Regions from separate parts of the Homo sapiens genome. Here region 2 is linked to region 1. The links are contacts of gene promoters, found by promoter capture Hi-C in blood cells and fetal thymus (Javierre and others, 2016). All regions are on one chromosome and are shown on one strand. Each heading gives the region's core, a stretch centred on a gene start or on the middle of the fragment in contact. The rest is flanking DNA. Distances are from core to core; before and after follow the strand shown.

Region 1 (5,085 bases), core at 1,394-3,893:
AGTAACATTCACGTAAGATCACCTCCTCAGTGTAGATCCAGAAATATTTTTAAAATCTTGCGCTCTAAAGTCGTCACCCTGCTCATCTGAGTCTGCATAATGGGCTTTAAACTTCCAATTATATTGGGAATTAATCTTATATTGGGCTTTAAACTTTGAATAACCGTACTTTCTATAACACATAAAATTGGAAGAAATTGGACAGGCGTGGTGGCTCATGCCTGGAATCCTAACACTTTGGGAGGCCAAAGCAGGTGAATCATTTGAGGTCAGGTGTTTAAGACCAGCCTGGCCAATATGGTGAAATCCCATCTCTACTAAAAAAAATACAAAAATTAGCCGGGCGTGGTGGCACGCACCTGTAATCCCAGCTACTCCGGAAGCTGAAGCAGGAGAATCGCTTGAACGCAGGAGGCAGAGACTGCAGTGAGCCAAGATTGTGCCACTGCACTCCAGCCTGCGCAACAGAGACTCTGTCTCAAGGAAAAAAAAAAAGAAGAAATTCAGATTGTGTGACTCTGTTCTCAATAAAAAGGCAACACCACAAAGGGGCATGCCATGGAAAGAACCACACTCATTCCTGTAAACTGTAGCCCATCCAGTCCAATAACTATGTAAGTTTTTTTTTTTTTTTTTTGACGAGTCTTGCCCTGTCACCCAGGCTGGAGTGCAGTGGTGCAATCTCGGCTCACTGTAGCCTCCACTTCTCGGGCTCAAGCAATTCTCCCACCTCAGCCTCCCGAGTAGCTGGGATTACAGGTGTGCGCCACCATGCCCAGCTAATTTTTGTATTTTAGTAGAGATGGAGTTTCATCATGTTGGCCAGGCTGGACAAGTATTTTTTTAAAAAAAGACAAGGAATTATGGCATAAAAGGCTGAATGGAACAGGAGAGCTGAGTCCTGGCTTATCCCTAATACTGTAAGTAATATGAACCACTATTTGTAACTGCTTTCAGTCTGTTCCCTAATTTGTAAAATGAAAACAATCACACGAGGTTCCCTACATGCCTAGAGGGTAGCTATATAGATCAAATGCCATCTGGCATATGAAAGCCTTTGAATAGGTTAAAATGTCACACTGATATGAGAGGTGACTACCTTCTGAAACTTCCGGGCTTGCAGATTTCCTGACAAAGGCCCAGGCCTCATCCTCTGTGGCAAACTTCTTAAATCTGGCAGCAGGAAACCGGTCCACCTGTGCTCTGCACTCATTCCTGGAAAAGATGTGCAATGTTATTTCCTTCTTCCTTCTCTAACTTATCCCCTTTTTTATTGAGATTCTTAAGGTTGGAAATACAGTTGTCCCTTGGTATCTGAGGGAGACTGATTCCAGGAAGTCCTCCACCCCATCACAGATACCAACATCAGAGGATGCTTAAGTCCTTTGCATAAAATGGTGTATTTGCAAATAACCCACACACATCTTCTTGCATGCTTTAAATCATCTCTAGTTTATAATACCTAATACAATCTATATAGTTGTATTGTCTTTTTATGCGTATTTTAAAACTGTATTCTATTTTAATTTTTTCCAAATATTTTTGATCTATGGTTAGCTGAAACTGAGGATGCAAACTGGATATAGAGGACCAATTTTTGCGTGAAAAGGGCAGAGTCGCACCTTATAGTTTTATCCTGCACGTCAGACTCTACACCTGTGTTCTACTGTATGCCAGCCAGCCAGCACACCAGCACCATAAGGCTTTCGTCAAACTCAAAGCATAACAAAATACTGCGGTCTTTGAAAAAAATATTAACCATTTCTTTACAACAAAAAGGTCAACTTCTGAGATGCTTCTTCCTCAATACTGTAGCTGCCGTGCATGGGGAAACACAGGTAACGAACTTTGGTATCTTGTAGTGGGAAGAGTTCTGGTGGTACAGTCAGAACAGCTGGGCTCAAGTCCTTTCTCTGTCAGTTACATGCCCTGGGAACTTCCTGACCCCAAGAACTATACCTGAAAGTGAGAATAATCCCTCTCACCTCCAAGGGTTGTTACAAGGATCCAACTGCAAATACTGGCTTATTAGAATTTGCCTTTTTTAAAAGGGAAGATTAGGTACTGAGTTCCAATCCCAATTTAGCTGGTACGGAAAGTCTTCTGGTAACGGGGGTTCGTTCTGATTACGTGTCACTTTTTGTTGCACTTTAACTGCAACAAAGATGGAGGATTAAACACAGGGTTTATTAGGCCACCCCTAACCTTTACGCGACGTTTCTGATATTTCAAACAAGTCTTCGGTGCGTTCCAGTCCCAGGCCATGAGCCTCCTGGAACCCCGCCGGCCGAGCAGGAAAACGAGGCGGTCCCCCGACCACCCACAGCCACAGCGCGCGGCACAGACTCGGACCGCCAGGCTCCCGCCGCCGGGGTTAGCCGGGCTCCGGCCTCCCTCGACCCCGATGCCGGCAGGGAGGCGCCTCGGCGGGCGGGCCACTCACCAGGTCAGAAAGACCCCGGTCTTGCGGCCCCTCCTCACGGCATAGAACATCCCGAACCCGCGAGAGCCGCGGCGGCAGGGCAAGGCGGCCAAGGCGACTCTGTGGGCCAGGAACAGAAGCCAGCTCATCGCTCACTCCCGGCACCGGGAAGCATTTCGACTCCCGGCCCAGCGTGGGCGCGAGCCGCCGGCGCTCAACACCGCACTTCCGTCACCGGCGCGGGAAGATGACGCACGTCTGGGCGGAGTCCTGATGAGGGCCGGGGCCTAGGGAGGGGCGGTGTCGTAGGGCGGAGCCCGGAGCTCGGCCCCTGACGAGCCCGAACTCGTCAACTTCCTGTCGGTACTTGAAGAAGCGGAGCCAGGGCTGAGATCCCGAAGGCGGGCGAGGTCTGGGATGGGGCGGGGCCTATGGGAGCGGGGCTGAAGCCCTGGGCCCGGCAGAGGAAGGTCGAGATGGACCATGTTGGGCCCCTTCTCTCCCCGCCCCCAGGCCGCAGTTCGGGGGCCACGCCCCGGCGTGCTCGGGTCACCGCGGGAAGCCCTTGAACCCCCTGGCGCCCGGCACCCACGTGCGGTAACCGCGGCTCCTCGAGAGCTCCAGGGATGCGGATCTACAGTAAGGGCTGTGGCCAGATGAATGAATGCACATTTTTTAGTGGGCAGAAAGATGTTAGAATTCATGAATTAGAATAAGCACAAAGGAGGGCGAGAGGGGAGGCCGTGGAAGCCGCATTCCTCCCCTTGCCTTGGGCGCCCACCCCCGAAGGGGCGCGTCCCCTCCCTGCTCCACTGCACGTGGGTGTTTAACCAGGGGATATCCAGTGCCTCAAGCACCACGACCCGGGAGAAAACTGAGTTGAGAAGGTAACTTTTAGAATTCTCCCCATTTGACCTTTTGCTCTGTAAGCAAATCAAGTAATTTTAAAAGTGTTCATGGGTTGGAGGGGCGTGGTGGCTTACGCCTGTAATCTCAGCACTTTGGGAGGCCAAGGCGGGTGGATCACCAGGTCAGGAGATCGAGACCATCCTGGCCAATATGATGAAACCCTGTCTCTACTAAAAATACAAAAATTAGCCGGGCGTGGTCGCCTGCGCCTGTAATCCCAGCTACTCAGGAGGCTGAAGCAGGAGAGGCGCTCGAACTCGAGAGGTGGAGGTTGCATCTGGGCGACAGAGCGTGATTCCGTCTCAAAAAAAAAAAAAAAGTCTCCATTGGCAAACATTGTTATTCGAATTATTTTTAAACCACTTTTCTTTAATTTTCTTAAGGTCTTCTAACAAGCCTTTTGCACACCTGCCATGTATTTTGTCAGGCCTTGGGGATGAAGGTGAGAAATTCGAGAATCCCCGGAGATAACACATCAGCAAATAGTGCGCAGGCAGAACAAGCTGTTGGAGGTGAGAGACACAGAGCAGAGAAGCACCCGCACCTGGAGAGTCAGGAGGGCCTCACATCAGAACGCCTGAGCAAATACAGTTTTGAAGGATACTAATTTTTTAAAAAGTTCATTCACATGAGTTAGACAAAGAGAAAGAAGCAGGACATTCTAGGAAGAAGGAACGGCCCAGGCAAAAGCGACGCGTACATTGGCGTGGTAAGTTGTGTTCCTCTGTGAAATCGAAGAACATCTTTTTTTTTTTTTTTTTTTTTTTTTAAACAGAGTCTTGCTGTGTCGCCCAGGCTGGAGTGCAGTGGCACGATGCACGATTGGGGCTCACTGCAACCTCCACCTCCCGGGTTCAAGCATTTCTCCTGCCTCAGCCTCCCAAGTAGCTGGGATTACAGGCGCCCGCCATCACGCCTGGCTAATTTTTATGTATTTTTAGTAGAAACAGAGTTTCACCATGTTGGCCCGGCTGGTTGCGAACTCCTGACCTCAAGTGATCCGCCTGCCTCAGCCTCCCAAAGTGCTAGGATTACAGGCATTAGCCACTGTGCCTGGCCAAAGAACATCAATTTTAAACATTTCAGCTTTCCTAATTTTAATTTAAATTGGCCATAGCTTTCATTCCTCATTCCTACCTATTGCACTTCAAGACGGATTCTTATTTTAAAATAAAAAGACACACACAGCTGTCCCTAAAGTCCATTTATGACTGATCATCCTACCCTTGTGTAGATATCTGAGGAAGCCCAGAGATGCCCGGGAAGGCTCTCAGGATGACCTGACAGCTGCCCCCACCTCGTCAGCATATCTGAGGGTTGACCTACCAAGGGCTTGCTTTTCTGTGCCCACTGGCTGGTCCTGTATCACAAGGACTCATCTTCCCTGAGAAGTCCTAGGTTGGAATTACCTGAGGACGCTTGCAGGATCATCCACATGACTTTCCACAGTGCCAAAACCCTCTCTCTTCCTTCTTCCTTCCTTCCTTCCTTCCTTCCTTCCTTCCTTCCTTCCTTCCTTCTTCTTTCCTTCTTTCGTCTTTTCTTCCTTTGTTCTCTTTTCTTTCTCCTTTCTTTCTTTCTTTTCTTGTTTCTTTCTTTTCTTTCCTTTTCTTCTTTCTTTATTTTCTTTTCTTTTTTTTCCGGGTCCTACTCCAACGCCCAGGCTAGAGTGCAGTGGCATGATCTTGGCTCACTGCAACCTCTGCCTCCTGGGTTCAAGCGATTCTCCTGCCTCAGCCTCCCGAGTAGCTGGG
Region 2 (5,085 bases), core at 1,613-4,112, 7.1 Mb after region 1:
CACAGATCAGACAACAACTGGGGTTCCACGTGTAGTTTAGGCACCACACCTCAAAGAAATAACCAGAAAATATTAAACAGGACAAGCAGGGGTTTCCAAATCCACTCAGCTCAAGCTACCCTCCCCACCACTCCACTGGAGCTCCTTGCCAAGGTCAAGGGCGCTCTGCATCATGCCAAAGTCGATGGTCATTTTTCTGCCTTCATCTTACTGAAGCTCTCAGTAGCAGCTGACACAGGTGACCACCACCTCCTCCTTGAAACACTTACTTCTACAAAACTACACATTTCCCAGTCTCCCCTTCCATCAGTGCCCACTACTCTTTCTTCTTTGCTGGGTTCCCCTCCTCTTCTTGGATGACAAATGCTAAGACTGCCTCAGGTCCTCAGCCTAGTTATCTTCTCTGTTCTTTCTCTCACAATTTGATCTCACCTAGTCCCAAATAACGACAGTAAATTCACCTGCAATCTCCATCCTAGTATCCATGCAACTGCTAACTACTCAACATCTCCATTTGGTATGTATTAGAACTTCAAATGTTCACTATTGAAAATAAAAACCTTGGGCCGGGTGCAGTGGCTCATGCCTGTAATCCCAGCACTTTGGGAGGCCGAGGTGGGTGGATCACAAGATCAGATCGAGACCATACCGGCCAACATAGTGAAACTCCGTCTCTACTAAAAATACAAAAATTAGCTGGTGTGGTGGCACGTGCCTGTAGTCCCAGCTACTGGGGAGGCTGAGGCAGGAGAATCGCTTGAACCCGAGAGGTTGCAGTGAGCCAACATCAGGCCATTGCACGCGACCTCAAAAAAAAATCTTGATTCTTTTTGCTCACTACGTTCCTCCTCTCCACCTTTCAATGTGTTCCTTCTTGATTCTTCTCCATGTCAGTTAGCAGCACCACCGTGCACCCACTTGTTCAGACTCAAAACTGAAGAGTTCTCTGATTCCTTCCTTTTTGTCACCTCAACTTCCCTCTACCAACAGTCCAATCCATTAGCAAGTTCCATTACCCTATCTACAAAGTATGTCCTGAATCTCACTGTGTTTTAGCATCTTCTTTGTTACCAGGCAAGCCCAAGCCACCGAAGTCGCTCACCTGGACTACCTAATTCATCCCGACTTGAACCCTCCCCAGCTAGACATTTGTCGCACAGCAGCCCACACAACAGTGACTTCCAGCAGCACTAAGAATAAAACTTGAACTTCCTACCTTTCCTACCAGGCCTACCTCTCCAGCCTCATCCACCCTGCTCTCGCCCCCTCACTCAGCATAGTGCAATCACACCTGTGCCTCTTCCGTCCTCCTACATGTCCAGTGCATTCCCATGTGGGGCTTTTGCACTTTCTGTTCTCAGCACTGAAAACTCTTCCCCACATCTTCACACGACTGGCTCCTCTTCATCATCCAAGTTTCTGCTCATATGTCACCTCTTGTAGAGAGGCCTTCCCCGAAGGTTTTATCCAAAACACTTTCTCTCAATATTTTATCCAAAACAGCTCTCTTCTAATCATTCACCACGAAAAGTACTTTTTGACTACCTTAAATTGCCTTATTTGCTCACTTGTTTATTTCCCTTTTCCCCAACAGGGAACCTTATCTGAAATGTCCACTATAGATCCCAATACTTAAAACAGAGTTGCTTGCACACAGTAACTTCTCAATACATGTGGAGAATGAATGAACAAAATGAGAAAGCTCATGGGGTGTGAAGAACAACTGGAAGACAGGGAATTATTCAAACCAGAATTTTAGGAAGAAAGGAAAAACCTAAGCACTGGCTCCAAATTTTTGTAGAAGCAGACGCATGGAAGGAGAGCTATATTTATTCTGTTTTCCAAGGGCAGGACTCAGGCCAACAGTGGCATGCTATAAGGTGACATATTTGAAAACCACTTTCTAACAAGTGCAGAGTCTCAAAATGGAAATGAGCTTCCACAAAAGGTAGTGCTCAGTGGTAGTGCTTGGACAGAGGCTGGATCATCACGTATAAGAAACAAAAGACAAGTTTCAGAGCCTAAGTGTGTCATGCTGGACAAGTCACCCTTCCCCTTGCTGGATCTCAGCTGCATATTAAACGCATTATTAAATCTCAGCTGCATTACTAAACACGAGAAGATTGGAAGAGAATTACCGACTTGTCCAAGCCCTCTCCAACTTTAAGACTAGGAATCAGGTTAAGTTCAACAAGTCTCGAAAATACTGTCCTCTACACCATAAATTCTGCAGATGCGAAGTCTGTATCTCCCTTGTTCACTGTTGTATCCCTAAGACCTGGCAAATGATAGGGACTCCACAAACAGCTGATGGCCATATGGGGGAGAGATGTGTCAACGAATCTGCCACGTTTTCCTCCTCGATGTACGGCAGGGACTGTGAACACCCAAAGAGGCCCAAATGGTTGCGTTCTCTGGAACAGAGAACTTTACAAAAGTTCCAGCAAAGCTCACTGACCCTGATTATCCCTTGGTCCAGTTTCTGGCGCGGTGACGGCAGTGTCCTTGTCTCCCAATGCCGACACCTCCCCCGGAAATTGTCAGCCGCCTCTGGGCCTCCCCGAGTCGGGGGGTGACCAGCGTCCAGCTAAAACAGAGGCTAGGGCCGAGGAGAGGGGCGGCTGCCCCACGAGGAGGACGACCCCCAAGAGCTCGAGAGTGAGGGGGCCGGGAAGTGACTCACCTCAGGAAGGGACTTGCCGCAGCTGAGGCTGTAAATCTTCACCTCATTGAGGCTGGAGACCTGCATGGCGCCGCACAACACTGTTCAAGTCCCGGGTCCTTTCCCACCAGCGTGCTCGAGCACCGTAATCCCGGGACCTCCGAGCCCCTGCTCCGCGGCGTGCGGCCGCTGGCGCCGACTGATGACGCACTTCCTGGAGCCGGAACACGCGGGCAAGTTCCCGGAAGAGGGAAGGTGGCTGAATCCGGGAAGAGCGGCGGCCGGGAGAAAAACTAGTGAGGCTCTGACAACCCGGCGTGGCTGTCGGCGACGCTGCTACGGGCAAGACTAGACACAAGCCGGGCGCGGTGGCTCACGCCTGTAATCCCAGCACTTTGGGAGGCTGAGGCGGGCGGATCACCTGAGGTCGGGAGTTCGAGACCAGCCTGACCAATATGGTGAAACCCCGTCTCTACTAAAAATACAAAAAAATTAGCCTTGCGTGGTGGCCGGCATCTGTAGTCCCAGCTACACGGGAGGTTGAGGCAGGAGAATTGCTTGAACCTGGGAGGCGGAGGTTGCAGTGAGCTGAGATCGCGCCGCTGCACTCCAGCCTGGGGGACAGAGCGAGATTCCCTCTCAAAAAAAAAAAAAAAAAAAAAAAAACTAGACACAGCTCTCCCTGCTGTTAGCATCCCGAGCGGCAGGAGGAGGCTTTCGAGTCTCTGCCCAGGCCGAGATGTCATCCTCCCGGGCGGGGGCGAGGCAGTTCAGCGAGTGAACCCAGCGAATGAAGGCGACCAGGGTGCGAATTCCGAGTGGAAGTGTATTCTCTTCTCTCCTCCAGTGTTTCTGCGATGTTACGTTAGAAGTACTGTAGGCCGGGTGCGGTGGCTCACGCCTGTAATCCTAACACTTTGGGAGGCCGAGGCGGGCGGATCACCTGAGGTCAGGAGTTCAAGACCAGCCTAGCCAAGATGGTGAAACCCCGTCTCTACTAAAAATACAAAAATCAGTCGGGCCTGGTGGCGCGCGCCTGTAATCTCAGCTACTCTGAAGGCTGAGGTGGGGGAATCGCCTGAACCCGGGAGGCAGAGGTTGCCGTCAGCTGAGATCGTGCCACTGCAGTCCAGCCTGGGCAACAGAGTGAGACTCCGTCTCAAAAAAAAAAAAAAAAAAAAAAGAAGACTGTGGCGTCATCTTCAACCCATTCCTATCTCTGGCCCTCACTTTCAGTATCTAAACCTGGATATTTCTAATTATGAAATATTTCCTTAAAGTAATCTGTTTTCATTCCTCCTGCTGAAACTCAAATACTTAACTATTTTTGGATTATAACTTTCCCAAGTGATCTTCTTACTTCCTTTGATTTAATGAACAAATTATTTTATGCCTTACTTTCTAAAACCCAAATATTATTGTTTTGCTCTCCTACCCACAACATTTTGGAAACTCTCAAATACCAACACCACATTGCATCAGAATTAGGTTGAGAGTTCTTCGTGGACCCTATATCATTTGTCCTTATATTCCCTATCCACCCCATCCACCCCTACCCAGAGTACCAGAACAGTGCCTGGCCTCTATTAGGCATTGCTACATATTTACATTTAGCCATGTACGTAGGGATATATTCCTTAACTCTGTCCTCAAATTTAAGATCCTCCACAAATTTTTAATTTTCTACACTGGTTACAGTTAAGAAAAACTGTAAACATCTTTGGGAAAGGTGGCATAATAGAATGGTTAGATCACAGACTCTGGCTTGGCTTGGTGGTGCAGGCCTATTGTCCTAGCTACTAGTGAAGCCGAAGCAGGAGAATCACTTGAGCCCAGGAGTTCTTGGCTGTAGCACGCAACGAGCGTTGGGTGTCCTCAGTTTGGCATCAATATGGTGACCCCACAAGAGCCAGGGACCACCATGTTACCTAAGGAGGTGTGAAGCGGCTCAGGTCAGAAATGGAGCAAGTCAAAACTCCCATGCTCACCAGTAATGGGATCATGCCTGTGACTAACACTGTACTCCAGCTTGGGCAACACAGCAAGACCCTATCTCTTGAAAAATAAATAAAGATCACAGACTCTGAAGCCAGACTGGCAAGATTCAAATCCCGACTGCCATTTTTAACTGAAAGACCTTAGGTAAGTTACCTAACCTCTCTGTACCTGTGTAAAATGGAGATAACAGTAGTATCCACTTCACAGAGTTATGAGGATGAAATACATTCATATTTATAAAACGTTTGGAACCCAGTACTTGGCACATAGTAAGACCATGTAAGTGTTTGTAAAATAAAACTGAAAATAAAGCCATATACCAAATAAGTGGAAATGTATCCAAATTCCATTAACATTTCCTTTTTAACAGTTTTATTGAGATATAATTAACATACTGTAAAATGTCCCCATTGAATGTACAATGT

The links. The method cuts DNA at HindIII sites, captures the fragments that hold promoters and counts their contacts. A CHiCAGO score of 5 or more calls a contact.
Region 2: the fragment with the promoter of NOL10 here is called in contact with the fragment with the promoter of RNASEH1 in region 1 in 1 of 17 cell types (monocytes); the score reaches 7.8 in monocytes.

The regions. Positions count from the first base shown.
Region 1 is chr2:3,555,690-3,560,774 of GRCh38, forward strand. It overlaps RNASEH1 (ribonuclease H1), which reads right to left and starts at 2,644. Exons shown (of 8, transcript NM_002936.6): 1 at 2,444-2,644; 2 at 1,100-1,215. The coding sequence starts at 2,571. It overlaps RNASEH1-DT (RNASEH1 divergent transcript), which reads left to right and starts at 2,697. Exons shown (of 3, transcript NR_038429.1): 1 at 2,697-3,309; 2 at 3,759-4,040. RefSeq lists silencers at 2,306-2,405, 2,776-3,095 and enhancers at 2,496-2,745, 4,410-5,085. The HindIII fragment of the contact is 22,605 bases long and covers 1-5,085 here.
Region 2 is chr2:10,687,113-10,692,197 of GRCh38, forward strand. NOL10 (nucleolar protein 10) reads right to left here and starts at 2,863. Exons shown (of 21, transcript NM_024894.4): 1 at 2,684-2,863. The coding sequence starts at 2,749. It also overlaps the pseudogene RN7SL832P. RefSeq lists enhancers at 2,310-2,369, 2,430-2,709. The HindIII fragment of the contact is 7,879 bases long and covers 1-5,085 here.